5 separate regions of the Homo sapiens genome follow, and all the other regions are linked to region 5. The links are contacts of gene promoters, found by promoter capture Hi-C in human tissues and cell types (Jung and others, 2019). All regions are on one chromosome and are shown on one strand. The core of a region is centred on a gene start or on the middle of the fragment in contact, and the rest is flanking DNA. Distances in the headings are between cores, read along the strand shown. Region 1 has its middle 5.5 kb from the start of MIR4668. Region 2 overlaps LINC02977 (long intergenic non-protein coding RNA 2977). Region 3 has its middle 52 kb from the start of MIR4668. Region 4 has its middle 56 kb from the start of LPAR1. Region 5 holds the start of PTGR1 (prostaglandin reductase 1).

The links. Contacts are between HindIII fragments. The study calls those that stand out against the background at their distance.
Region 1: a fragment that was not itself captured here is called in contact with the fragment with the promoter of PTGR1 in region 5 in 1 of the 25 tissues and cell types used here (lymphoblastoid cells).
Region 2: a fragment that was not itself captured here is called in contact with the fragment with the promoter of PTGR1 in region 5 in 1 of the 25 tissues and cell types used here (ovary).
Region 3: a fragment that was not itself captured here is called in contact with the fragment with the promoter of PTGR1 in region 5 in 1 of the 25 tissues and cell types used here (lymphoblastoid cells).
Region 4: a contact is called between a fragment that was not itself captured here and the fragment with the promoter of PTGR1 in region 5, in 1 of the 25 tissues and cell types used here (IMR-90 fibroblasts).

What each region holds. Positions count from the first base shown.
Region 1 is chr9:111,936,289-111,938,988 of GRCh38, reverse strand. No RefSeq gene overlaps it. Among named protein-coding and RNA genes, the nearest start is that of MIR4668, 5.5 kb to the right of the region's middle. RefSeq lists an enhancer at 795-1,104. The HindIII fragment of the contact is 5,345 bases long and covers 1-2,700 here.
Region 2 is chr9:112,027,873-112,030,572 of GRCh38, reverse strand. It overlaps LINC02977 (long intergenic non-protein coding RNA 2977), which reads left to right. Exons shown (of 3, transcript NR_186812.1): 3 at 782-2,035. Among named protein-coding and RNA genes, the nearest start is that of LINC02977, 11 kb to the left of the region's middle. RefSeq lists enhancers at 1,271-1,400, 1,711-1,760. The HindIII fragment of the contact is 3,770 bases long and covers 1-2,700 here.
Region 3 is chr9:111,982,763-111,985,462 of GRCh38, reverse strand. No RefSeq gene overlaps it. Among named protein-coding and RNA genes, the nearest start is that of MIR4668, 52 kb to the right of the region's middle. RefSeq lists enhancers at 1-194, 1,525-1,624, 1,925-1,984. The HindIII fragment of the contact is 6,595 bases long and covers 1-2,700 here.
Region 4 is chr9:111,093,352-111,096,051 of GRCh38, reverse strand. No RefSeq gene overlaps it. Among named protein-coding and RNA genes, the nearest start is that of LPAR1, 56 kb to the right of the region's middle. The HindIII fragment of the contact is 5,286 bases long and covers 1-2,700 here.
Region 5 is chr9:111,598,292-111,600,991 of GRCh38, reverse strand. PTGR1 (prostaglandin reductase 1) reads left to right here and starts at 1,345. Exons shown (of 10, transcript NM_001146108.2): 1 at 1,345-1,389. RefSeq lists an enhancer at 922-1,494. The HindIII fragment of the contact is 5,410 bases long and covers 1-2,700 here.

The DNA of each region.
Region 1 (2,700 bases), core at 135-2,634, 340 kb before region 5:
AAAACAATAAAACAAAAAAACCAACAATAAAGAAGGAGAGTATCCCCATAGACAGGGAAAGTGAGGATGAAGGGAGAGAAACTTTCAGGGCAAGGAAACAGCATGGGAGCAAGGAAGCTCTGGTTCCACACGGAAAAGGGTCGGCTGGTGAGAGTGAGCCATTGGGTTGGGGGTGGAGAGCTCAGGCTGGAGAGATGGTGATGTGAAATGAGAATAGAAAATTAAGGACCACCTTTTCCTGGGCTTGGAGTAAGGCTGAGGAACATGGGGTCAGAGGAAGAAGCTGAAGTCAGAAGTCAAGCTCCAAGTCAATGTAGAGACAAAGCAGGAAGTAAAACAAGCAATATAACCAAAAATAAGCGAATCAGAACAAAATGAAAAAGGGCAGACTGTGGGCAGGGCTAGGGTGCCCACAGCTGCTTCCGGGATGCCGATTATGCTGTTGGGAGACAGTCTAGGATAAAGTCAGGAGACTGGAAGATGGGGATGGACAATTCCCCTTCATCGTCTCTTAATGACCCAACTTCTTAGGACATTTCTCACAAATTCAAGTCAGGCTTAGTTTTTTGGCTTAGTATTACTGGGACCTTGGGTGGAAATGCATCGTTGTTGCAGTTTCCAAATATCTGTGCCCATCGCTTTCATGTCTTTTTCACACGCAGCCAAACCTAAAGCATCTGACTTCTGCTTCTTCCACTCTGATGAACTGGCTTCCTGGGAGCTGCCTTTCTTAAACTGTTTCCTTGGCATCAGAGTCATATGGGTGCTCTCAGGGTCAGGAGCAATTTCTGTCTTTGAAAGTCCCACCCCTTTGTCTCTCACTGTAGAAAATATATCACTGTGTAAAACAAGAAAAATCGTTCATAAAGAAGCTGTATTACTCCCACGCAGACACTTCATCTATCAACGTCTGAGACAATTCACTATGGCGGAGACCCACGCTGGCAACTCTACAGGGAGTTTCCTGCCCCAGAGTTCACCAGCCTCTTCTCATCCTTTACGGTCAACGGCCCCTCCCGTGACCACTTCCTTCTTGAAATCTCTCTTTCCAAGGCTACTGTGGCACTCCTTTTACTATTTCTTTCTTCTTTGGGAGGAAAAAGGCACTAACTGTCCCTATGCTCATGTACATGACCTCATCGAATCATCTCTACCACCTCAGGTGCTTTAGTATCTCCATTCTACATGGTTAAGAAAGCTTGGCTCAGAAAGATGAAGGAAGCTTCCTAAAGTCCCATAGCTACCAAAAAGCCCATTTGGACCCCAGGTTTGGCAGCCTCTTTTCCTAGATGTTTTTCTTCCATTGTCTCTCTAAATGGCACTTTGACTTTAGTTATAGTCACTGTCTCAGCCATCACCTCTAGGGAAATTACTCCCAAGTCACCACTTCTAACCCATTCCTTTCCCCTGCTCCAGAGCTGCACAATAAATAGTCTGCTGGATTTCTCCAGCATGTTCCTTAGGCTGGCCTGGTGTCCGTCAGTCATGAGGGGAAATGATAGAGGTTTCACATCTGGTGACAAGGGTTGGGAAACAAAGGTGGCATGACCGCAATGGGGTGTGCAGGCAGCAGAGGAGGGGTGCAGATACTCTCAGTCCTGTAGAAGAATAAATGATATCCCTAAATTGCTTAAATTAGATAATTACAAGTCCATGCTATTAGCATGGATGTCTTAATGATGATTAGTCTAAACAGCACAACCACATGAAACCATTCCAGACACCCACAGTCTCTGCCAATTTCTCTCGGAACTGAGGAGGGGCCATGTGAAAGGCTTAGCACATTTTGGTTCTTAGGAAACTAGCTGCTTAGGGATCTCTTAAAGATATGTATTTTTGTTTTTAGAAAATACTAGGATAGTGATTTTAAACTTTTTTCTAGGTATCAATATTTTTAAAGCAAATTACCCAACTAAACACATATCCTTGCAGCTCTGCAGAGACAGGTACTCACCATTTTGCGGTTTGCTTTCTTTTCACCGAAATGAACTTGATATGGTCGTAAACTATAACTTGAAATGAATAAATAAATAACTCAAGCACTAGATCCTGATAAACTTCAGAAGGAAAGGTCTGAACTATTTCCATTCTCATGAACACAGTCTTGTGGTATGCATCAATCTTATCAATCATGTATGTAAAGCATTTCACTTTAAATGAGCTTTATAGTAATTTACATTCTTGTTCTACAGGTTTGAATCTGGTTCTCTAGAACAATTTTTGAGTTAGGATACAGATGGTTATTAAAACTGTGATATTTTTCCCCCTTAAGGTCTAGGTAAATTTTCAAGCCAGTGTAAGCATAAATTTAAATGTGGTCCAGCGGAGAAATATACCACACTGGGACCAGATAGAGGGGCTACTCCCAGCTCTGCCACCAGCACCATGCCTACCTAACCCTATGATCACAGCTCTCACCGTGGGTGTCTCAGCTTCTTCATTCTAAAATAAGGGTGAGGGATCCTCAAGATCCACCTAGCTATGAAATTCTAAGACATACTCAACTTTGTGTTGATCATTTCTTAAACTGTAGGGTTAGAAGTACACAAATGAGAAGGAATGTTTGTTTACTGGGCCAGATCCCTTTTAGACTGTGTCTTACGGCTCCGATAACAGAATACCATAGACTGGGTGGGTTATAAACAACAAAACTTTCTCAGTTTTGGAGGCTGGAATGTTTAAGATCAAGGCCCTGGCAGA
Region 2 (2,700 bases), core at 188-2,687, 430 kb before region 5:
TGTATCCAGGAAGCCTCCCAGTATGGTTTCAAAGGAGTGAGACTGGAAGCATAAAATTCAGTCCTTCCTGTTGTTAATGTAGCATTATTTATTAGCAGATTGGACCTCTGACAGAAATAAACTGATATCATTTGCTTTAATTTTGATGCTGAATTTCCCCTGTGATTGAGAAATCAGTTTAACCTTCATTTCACAACATCCAGCAACACCTTACCCAGCTCCTTCAGTGATGGAGTTTTTATACTACACAGTGGTTCAGAGTGACAAGCATAACAACAGAGTGATTAAGTACAAGAGGCCAGCAAGGGCCACACAGGTGAAGTCTGAGCTGGCCTCAAAGGGTTAGTAGGGTTTTTTTTCAGGCAGAGACGACTAGGAGGGAAATTCCAGGAATGGGGTGTGTGTGTGTAAGAATGTAAACAAAGGCATGAAACAGCACAAAGAACAACATTAAAGATTGAAATAGAGGGACTAGAGAGGAAGGTTCTAATGAAAAGGAGATGTTATCAAAATAAAAATAAAGAATTTGACAGTGCATTGGATTGGCTGACTGTTGGGGGGCGGTGCAAGGAAGTGGGTAAAGGAAGGGGACAATTTGCTTATGAAGTCTTTCAAAACAACATTTAAAAAAACATCTTCTAGACAAACCGTAACTCTAATGAGACTTCCCCAAAACATACTAGATATTCAACGGAATTATAGTTGTCCTTCTAAGTAGTTTCTTTGAAAGACTAAATGCATATTCCAGTGACACTATTAGTATTAACATTTTTTTTTTCAGAAGTTACCTTTGGGAATTGCCTTCGGAGTGTTTATGAGCTGCAAAAGAACATCAATTAGTCTTATTACTTTACAGTTTTCTCTGTCTATGTAGGGTAAAAACATTATATATCCATATAAAATATATATCATTAAAACTTAGCCTGTTGGACATTTCTTTTTTTATTTTTAATTGTAACTTTTGTGGGTACATGGTGTACATATTCATGGAATGCATGAGATGTTTTGATACAGGTGTGCAATGTGTGATAATCACAACATGGAGAATGGGGTATCTATCCCCTCAAGCATTTATACTTTGTATTATAAACAATCCAATTATACTCTTTTAGTTATTTTTTAATGTACGATTCAATTATGATTGACTATAGTCACCCTGTTGTGCTATCAAATACTAGGTCTTATTCAGTCTTTCTAAATTTTTGGTACCCATTAACCATTCCCACCCCTCTGCCCTTCCACCACTCTTTCCAGCCAGTTGGACATTTCTTTTATAAACTGAAGTATGTGGCGAATGACTTTTAACCATTTCCGAAAATCAAACACGATGTAAAAATATTACACTTGTGGACTCAGAATACCAAAAATATGTGTTTCCAGCCCTGATGGCAATCTTCAAAGAGGGATTGCAGCATACCTGGAGTAGCCACAGCACCGTTGTCAGCACTGAGCCCACACAAGTGACTGTTGACACAGGGACCGTATTCTGTGTATATCTATGTTCTGAGAATATTTTGTTGTTGTGGTGGTGGTTGGAAAAGCTTTTATATGACAGTTTATGGCTCACAGTGGTGTCTGGCTGGTGGCCTTCAATGCAATGACTCATAAGAACCTCTCCTTCAGTCACCCTTGAAGACCCAACAAAGCTGGGGAAAGGAGGGGAATTTCCCGATACCATTGACAATGAAGATGGACAAGCTAACGGCAGAACCTCAGAAGGATCTGACTTCAGATATGCACGCAGCGTACCCTGGCTTCATTTCACAAAAACAGTACCCTTTTGCAAAGGGAGGAAGTGACTTTCTCATGACCCGAACCAGAAAATAGGCAGCCACGGGACTCTATGCACTGATTCCACCTTGGGGAGCAGGCAGAACATGTCCCCTTTGTGACCACGTTCACTGGCATCTTTCTGGATCCAGATAGAGTGCAAAACTTAGAAACAGCTGAGTGGTACGCAGAGGGGGTACAGGTACAGATCATACCGTGCAGGCAGGTATGACCCTACAATAAACTGCCCAAGATATGTGTTGTATATGTGTTGTGTGTATTTGAGTTGAGTGCATTGGGTGCATGTTTGTATATACATGTGTGTGCGTATGTGTGTGTGTGGTGTGTATGTGGTGTGTGTGTGAGAGCTGAGTGCATTGTGTCTATGTTTGTGTGTACATTTGTGTGTGTTGTGTGTGGGGGGTGTGTGTGTGAAGGGCACTGGCCCTTACTCCTGGTAAGAGTGAGTAATAGCAACTGCCATTGGTTATACCTCCTTCCTTCAACTTCAGAGTATGGGAGAGTAGTTCAGTAGAGACAGGAGAAAACGTTTCCTCAGCTGAAGACCTATACTTTTTTATTTGGGAAGGGGGTGATTTATTCTAAATAACTACACAACTCTTTTTATATTAGGGAAGCCACAAGCTGCTTGTTATCTATATTGCACATATTTCTCCATATTTGCTCTTTGTCTTGCAACTTTATTTATAAGACTTTTGCTTGTTTTTGCCATGGGAAAGTTTTCATTGTTACTTAGTCCAGGTTACTGATCTTTTGTTTGTGATTACTGAATTTCATGATGTGCTCAGAAAGACTTTCCACCCAAGATTTAAAAATATTTATCCATTTCTTTCCTAGCTCTCATGCAATTTTAGCCGTACTTTAAAACATTTGTTGCATTTGGAATGTATTTGGTGTAATGAATGAAAC
Region 3 (2,700 bases), core at 94-2,593, 380 kb before region 5:
ATGGATCATGAGGACTTGTTCCTTGAGTCTGTAGCTCAGTGGTTGTTCTTCAGGACAGGGACCCTTTTAGTCAAGGCCTGGAAGGGAGTCTTTTCAGAGGAAGGAGGTGTGAATTAGGGAGACGTGGAGTGAGGGAGAGGAGTTCATTACCTCCACCAGACCATGAGCTCCCTGAGAGCTGGGCCAGAGACTGGACTCCTTTGAGGATCCAGTGAAGAGTGTTTTCTTTCTGGCACAAAGGCTGGGGTGATTCTGCGGACACAAGCAGGTGCCCTGGTATTTATTGCAAGTGCCAGATGCCAGATTCTAATTGGGATCAACATCTTCCTCACCAGCCTGAAGTTCTGCACAGATGTTGGTTTTCCTTCCCTAGAGAGGGCTCACTAATCGTTAGACCCAAAAGGAAACCCTTGTAGAGACCTCCTTCCTTCCTCCACCCCTCCACTTTATAAGAGGATGTGGCTGGCTGGGCACGGTGGCTCGCACCTGTAATCCCAGCACTTTGGGAGGCCGAGGTGGGTGGATCACCTGACGTCGGGAGTTCGAGACCAGCCTGGCCAACATGGTGAAACCCTGTCTCTACTAAAAATACAAAAATTAGCCAGGCGTGGTTGTGCATGCCTGTAATCTCAGCTACTCAGGAGGCCAAGGCAGGAGAATCACTTGAACCTGGGAAGCAGAGGTTGCAGTGAGCCGAGATCACACCACTGCTCTCCAGCCTGGGTGACAGAGTGAGAGTGAGACTCTATCACTCTGTAAAAAAAAAAAAAAAAAAAAAAAGAAGATGTGGTCATGGTGGGAGGGGTGTGTGGGGCCTCTACCACTTAGTGGCTGGGTAACTTTGGGCAAATTACCTTCCTAAGCTTGTTTTTTTTTTTTTTTTTTTTTCATTTTAAAGGTGAAAAGAATAATGTGACAAGCCTTGTAGGATTGTTATGAGCATCAAACGAGTTAATGAAGATAAAGTGTTTGATACAACAATGTCTGGTTAAACAAGGTCAATGCTCAGTACACCTTAGTTATGATTGGCACCTCCACAAGGGAGTAGGTATGGCTGAACATCTGATCCTCTGTGTCTTGGTCTGGGAAAACCCTGGATCCTGAGTAGCAAATGAGTGGGAAGAGTCCCAAGATGGTGCCAGGAAGGATGCAACAGGCAATGAACTTCCCTATCTCGCCCACCCCAATTATGACATCATCACGCTGATGGGGATTGTGTCCCCACAATGTGGCAGGAATGTACAAGGAGGAGCATCCTTAGAGGCCCAGTGCTGCTCACACCCTGCCCCTGTCTCAGCCTTCAGGGCACCCCAAGTTTGCTGTGCTCTAAGAAATGGGGAAGCACAAATTTCCAGAAAAAGCATAGCGAAGTCAACCCGAGGAGGTTGATAGAGGTTGGTGAGAATTAACTTTTGCCCAAAGAGAGACGCATGGGCTGGAAGAAAGAGAAGAGGCAATTTGTTTTGCAAATCGGGGACCTGGACCTGTCATCAAGTTTCCCACCGTCCAAAGGGGGGTTCATGGCTCATTTTCATGGGACACATGGGCTCGGGATGGGAGTGAGGAAAAGGTGACAGATACACATCTGGGTTCACACTGCTGTGGCTGCTCAGAAGGGAAGGAAAGCAGCCTCTTCTGTTTGGGGCATGGTAGGCCCAAGCCTTCTGAACTGCCCACCCAGCAGAGAAAACAGGCAGGAAGAGAAACTGAACAGAGAAGTGGAGGAGGAAGCTCACACCATGTGGTTGGTGCTGCTGTTGGTTTTACACTGCCAGAGCTAATAACCAGGTGTATTCATGAGGCTTCTGCCTTTTGATAACCTCAGACTGGGCCACATCTTCTGACTTGGCCATAAATGGGGAAAGGGCCTTACCTAAGGTCGGTACTGAGTCAGAGGTAGGACCTGGGCAGGAGGCCTTTCAGCCGTGGTGCCTGCAGGTGGAAAACCCCAGCAGCCCTTTCTCCTGCTCAACCCCCCTCTCTCTCAGGACATAGAACAAGTAGTGGTTTCTCAGTCTCCAGCCAGCTCTATGTTCCTTTCCTCCCTATGCTGCAGGTGTTCCTTTCCTCCCTCCATCACATGCTATCACCACTTGCTCTGTGTCCTGGGACAACTCTCCCCATTCAGAGCCTGATCACAGGGCAGAGGGAAATCTTCCCATCTTCCTCCTCCAGAAAACCAACACACAGACCCTCTTCTCCTTACTGATTTTATTGCTACTCACTAAAGAGAAGTAGAAAAGATCACAAAAAGCAACACATCTACGTGTTAAAAACGTAAGCAGTTTTTTCCTCTCTGATCTCTGATCTGATTCATTTGTGTATTCATTCATTCATTCATTCATCTGTCCATCCATTCATTTGTCCATCCAATGAGTATTTATTAAGCATCTGCTTTGTACCAGGGAGTGTCCTGAGCCGTGAGGATGCAGCAGTGAAAAAGACAGATGCAGACATGGTCCCTGCCCTCCAGTGGGTCTTGACTCTTGCCTTGACACAATCATGGGAGCCTGTCGACTTCTGCGCTCTGAAGTCCTCATCCCATGTAGGAGCTGAAGACAGTGCCTACAAGAGCCCACATTTTAGGGCAAAGGCAAGAATAGACAGTCTGAGTGGTTGCCCTGCACAGCCAGAAGCAGTGCAGCCAGGGGTGGATGTGCTAGTCCTGGTAGAGGAGGGGAAGCCAGAAGTCAGGGCCAA
Region 4 (2,700 bases), core at 135-2,634, 500 kb after region 5:
CAGAAAATAGGAGATTTTAAATATACTGAAACCCAAAAGAGCAGAGGAGGTTGATCCTCTGATAATTGCTGATGTCAAAATCTGCCATCATGGAATTTTTAAAATCTTAATTTGTTTCACTCGGTTTATGAAAAAATTATTGTGTTCCCCCTTAGGATTTCCACCTTCCCCACCCCTCCCTTGTTACACCCTCACGGTGGGTGAGTACTCGTGTTTCTTCAATTTTCTGGTCCCAAGCATGCCTGGGATGAACTTCATGCCCAGTTAGCTTGTCATATCACATTACTTTGCTCAGACATGGGCTAAGCTGGCTTTCTAAATAAGACATCAAGTCCAGAAAATTTAAACACATGTGGGGGTCATAGGAAATCTGTTTAAAACAAACACTTTGGTGCACATGGAAACAAGAAGTTTAATGACATTGTCTAACAAAGCCGTCTGGAAGGACTCCTCAGAGCTCTCAAATGGCTCTTGGTTATCAGTTGCTGGGAACGTCCCAACTGGCAGGAAGCACATCAGTTTTATGGCATGTAGGGGCTGTTAGACGGAAGGATTTTAGAATTTCACTCCGTGTTTAACTCCATAGGGATAGATACTTCATGCTTCTCTCTGTGATATAACAGAATCTTGTTTTTCAAAAAAGCAGTCCTAATAATAAATTCATACCAGGGCTATTTGATTTGACCTTTATCTTTTCCCAGTTTGTGCTAACATGGGTCTTGTCTAAGTTCTGTAAGTGAACCCCATTGCTCTTCTCCTAAAGTTGTTCCAGCAAATGATATAACCAGGCAAGCCTTACCTCATGATTTTTATGCCTCCTGTAGGATATGACATGCAAGTTTCCTGACTCCCTTGCCTGTCTAAATCCTCTGGGTTCTTTCTTGTGATAAAGGTCTCAGCACAGTATTCCACACATTTCATGCTCTCCTCTTCACAGAAACAGGTTGAAAAAGACAGCATGCTTTCAGGAGAGTCTCATTGAGAGAAGATGGACAGGGGGTAGTACATAAAATGCTAATTGAAAGAATAATGGTACTATTCTTGAAAGCTATAAGCAATTTTCTTCATGCTGAGAAGTGACAAGGGAAGATTTACAAATTCAAAGAATCTGACTTTGTTGACTTTAGAAAATCTCACTGTATCCCTTTTGCTAAGACGCCAGAGAAAAGGGCCTTTTGCCATGATTCCAATAAGTGTGTCCTGCTCTAGTTATAATAGTCCCACCTCCCGGTCCATGCTGAGTCACTGCTAAAGTTTTTAGTCATGGACAGTCAGAAGCAAGTCTGTGTAAACTCTCCTGGCCCCTCCTGGCTTCACCATCTCTTCCTCTTTCTCTAACTCTACTTCTCAGAAGACAATGCTCTTTGGTTTCTAATTTTCTAGAATCCAGAATACTCCCTCCCCTTTAGGGAAGTGAAATAGGGACTCTGGGGATATTCCACCCCCTGACCATCAAAGACACAGGGAAGGGGTCATCCTGTGGCTAAAAGCCAGGGGAGATCAGAACCAAGGCCAAGGTTGAATTTCTCTCTGAACTAACCCTCAACTCTGACCTAGAAAGTCCCCCTTTTGAGGTTCTTTGTCATAGATACAGCAACAGCAATGCAGAATCCCACAGAGAGGTCACAATGTTCTTGTTCTTCCCATTAATACAGGCCAGGATCAGGGGCTTTAATTTTGAGATGAACCTCTCACACTTATCTTAGTAAATCTTGTTGCTGAAGTAGGTCCCCGATAAATAAACTCTTGAGTTTAATCAAATATTAAAATGAGGCTGGGTACAATGGCTTACACCTATAATCCCAGCACTACGTGAGATGAAGATAGGAGGATTGCTTGAGCCCAGGAGTTCAAAACCAGCCCAGGCAACATAGTGAAATCCTGTCTCTACCAAAAAAACAAAAACAAAAACAAAAACAAAACAAAACATTAAAATGGCAATTATTCCTTTGTATCTTTCAGAACTAATCTCAGAAGCGTCACTGAGTGTGGAGTAACATGCCCTTTAACTCTGTGTGGCTGAATATTAAGACAATGTTCTCTATTTTTCTATGCAACCTACAAGTATTGTTAAATGTTGATTATATGAGAGCTTACAGAGGGAGCTCTAAACAAGAAATGCCTGCCCTTAAGTATAGACAACACCTTTTGGGAAAGAAGGCACACATATTTGAAAAGATGAGAGAGAGCAAAAAGTATAAGCGAGGGAGTCACCCCCGTGGGCTAAAGTGGTCATGGACAGCTTTGGAGAGAGGTTTTGGAGAAACCTCTGGGGACTTGGTGTTCAGGGGCACCCTTATAGGGGTGTGGAAGGGTGATATATGCAATCCTGATACCATCTCTGTAGATGCAGAAGTGGATTATATATGACATGTATGATCATGTATGTGTGTATGTACACACATGTATGTATGTGTCACAGATGTTGGACTCTATAAAGGCTAAACAATGACTTACATCAGATTTTTAATTAGGAATTTAACTTTAATAGTTATTCAGATTTTCATTTTTTTGCATCAGTTTTGGGAATTCATTTATTTCAGCTAAATTGTCAAAGTTATTGACATAAGCGATTTCTAATGATTTCTTCTTCTTCTTCTCCTTCTCCTTCTCCTCCTCCTCCTCTTCCTCCTTTTTCTTCTTCATCATCAATTTTTGAGACAGAGTCTCACTCTGTCATCCAGAGTGCAGTGGCACAAT
Region 5 (2,700 bases), core at 96-2,595:
TCTGTTATGGGCTGAACTGTGTCTTCCCCAATTTCATGTGTTAAAATCCCCAAGTCCCAGTACTCAGAATGTAACTGTATTTGTAGATAGGGCCTTTAAAGAGGTAATTAAGGTTACATGAGGCCATATTAGTGAGCCCTAATCCATTTGACAGTATTTGAAGACAAGGCCTTCAAAGACGTGTTTAAGTTAAACGGAGGCTGACAAGTGGGGCTCTAATCCAATATGGCGGGTATCCTTACAAGGAGAGACATTGAGCCAGGTGTGGTGGTGGGCCTGTAATCCCAGCTTCTAGGGAGGCTGAAGGAGGATCACCTGAGTCCAGGAGTTCAAGGCTGCAATGAGCTATGATGCCCACCATTGCACTCCAGCCTGGGTGACAGAGCAAGACCTCAAAATAATTAAAATTAAATAAATAAATTAAAGACATTGAATCTTCACAATGACTGGAAGTTAGGCATTCTTCTTATCCCCATCTTGCAGATGGCTGAACTGAGTGAGGCAAGGAGAAGGTAAGTAAGTCTTTGAAAGCTACACCACTAGTAAGTGGCAGGTGCAGGCTTCGAACCTGCAGTCGTCTAATACCAACGACTTAGCTTCACGTTCAACCCCTGCCTGAGACCACCTCTCCTTGCAGAAGCCAGGTCAAGGCCTGATGTTTGCTAGGGTGTGATGGGTGGGGTGCCTCAGTGGCAAGAGTGCTCACTCCTGCCTGGGGGAGTCTGGCAAGGGTTCACAGAGGTGACCTTGAATTGGCTGGTGGAAGGCGAGTAGGTGTTCAGCAGGCGGACTGGGGACAGACAGGCAGGGTGTCTGCACCGCAGCCCTGGGCGAAAGCTTGCACTGCGGGCAAGCGGCAGGGCTGACGGGGAGCCCAGGGATCGGAGCCAGCACCGGGGGCTTATTAGGGCTGCGGCCGCCCCAGGCCCTGCCTTTGGACCCTTCCGGCCTGCTTGGCAGATGCCACGGTTGGTTCCCCCACGGGGCATATTTCCGCCGGGCTCCAACTTAGGACCCCAGGCGGAGGTCCAGTGTCAGCTGGACAAAGCTCTGTTAGGAATTTTCCTATCAGGAGTCCCTAACCCCCTACACGCACACACACGGGCGCGCGGGCGCGCACGCACACACACGCACACATGCACACATACGCGCGCGCACATGCACATAGGCACACAGAGATACGCGCACACACACACACAAACGCACTCAGATTTCCCGGACCCTGGTTTTCCTCCTGTGACCCTTTCGGGGCCGGGCTCTCACCCTAAAGAAGCAGCCCCGCCCTGGGGTGGCCCCACCCTCTCTTGGGACCTGTCATAAGTCGGACCCCGGGCGCCCGGCTGCGCAGTCCCAGCCGCCTTCCCCAGGCAGTGGAACCTTCGGGCTCCTGTAAGTAGACCTCCTGCTTTCTTTCCTTCCCTTTTCTCCCTCCTCTAACCCCCTTGCTTTCTTCCTGCCAAGTTTCTAGACGCCCCAGTGGAGGAGGTTTGCTCTTAGACCTCCTCCCCTTACGTCGAAATGACCGCTGGGTCTTGCACTCGGAGGATCTTGGGAGCCGACGTCCCGACGCCTCCCGCCCCCGCAGTTCCTTGGAGAGCTTGGAGCCGCGCGCCGGAGGGAATAGGAAAGCTTGGTTACAACCCGGGACACCCGGTAGCTTCCTGCACCCGGGAGGGGGCTGGCCAGGGAACTTGCTGGACTGCACAACTGGGGGAGGGTAGAAGAAGAAAGATCGGGGTGGGGATTCGGGAATGGGCAAGCGGGCGGCGGGCGGCGGGAGGCGAGGGTGGGAGCAAAGGGCGAGCGGGCAAAGGCCGGGCGCCGCGCCAGGCCCCCTCCTCGGGCGGGCGAGACTTTCCCGGGACCTGGCCCCTCTGCGGCCAGACCCTTTCCAGGAGGGCTTCTGGACTTGTAGCGAGTTTGGAAGCCCAGCGGTTGCTTTTTTGGGGAAAGGGACAAAGATGTGTGAACTCTAAAGAAGTTGAACTCATAGAAATAACGACTAGAATGATGGTTGCCAGAGGCTGGGAGCGGGTTCGGGGGGGAATGGGGGCTTGTTGGCCAAAGGGTACGAAGTTCAGAGACGAGAGGAGTAGGTTCTGAGATCTGTTGCACAGCAGAGTGACTAGAGCCAATAATGTGTATTTCGAAATAACAGAGTAAACTGCAAATGTCTCACCGTAAAAATGATACGTAGGGCCTGGCGCGGTGGCTCACGCCTGTAATCCCAGCACTATGGAAGGTCGAGGCGGGCGAATCATTTGAGCTCAGGAGTTCTAGACCAGTCTGGCCAACATGGGGAAACCCCGTCTCTACTAAAAGTACAAAAATTAGCTGGGCGTGGTGGCGGGCGCCTGTAATCCCAGCTACTCAGGAGGCTGAGACAGGAGAACCGCTTGAACCCGGGAGACGGAGGTTGCAGTGAGCTGAGATCGCGCCATTGCACTTCAGCCTGGGCGACAGAGCGAGACTCCGTCACAAAAAAAGTCTTAATTTTAAAAAAAGAAAAGAAGGAACAACCCCGGGCTGCAGATCAGACCGCCCCCCTGGCTCCCTCGCAATGCGGGAGTGCTCCCTCCAGGTCACCGTGTCCCCTCCCGCGGCACCGGTAGGGGAGCTGGGGAGATCACTGGCAGCTCCAAATGGTTTCGTAACTGGATTGTTTGTAGCGGATGCACCCGCGGGAAGGCGCAGGTCCCA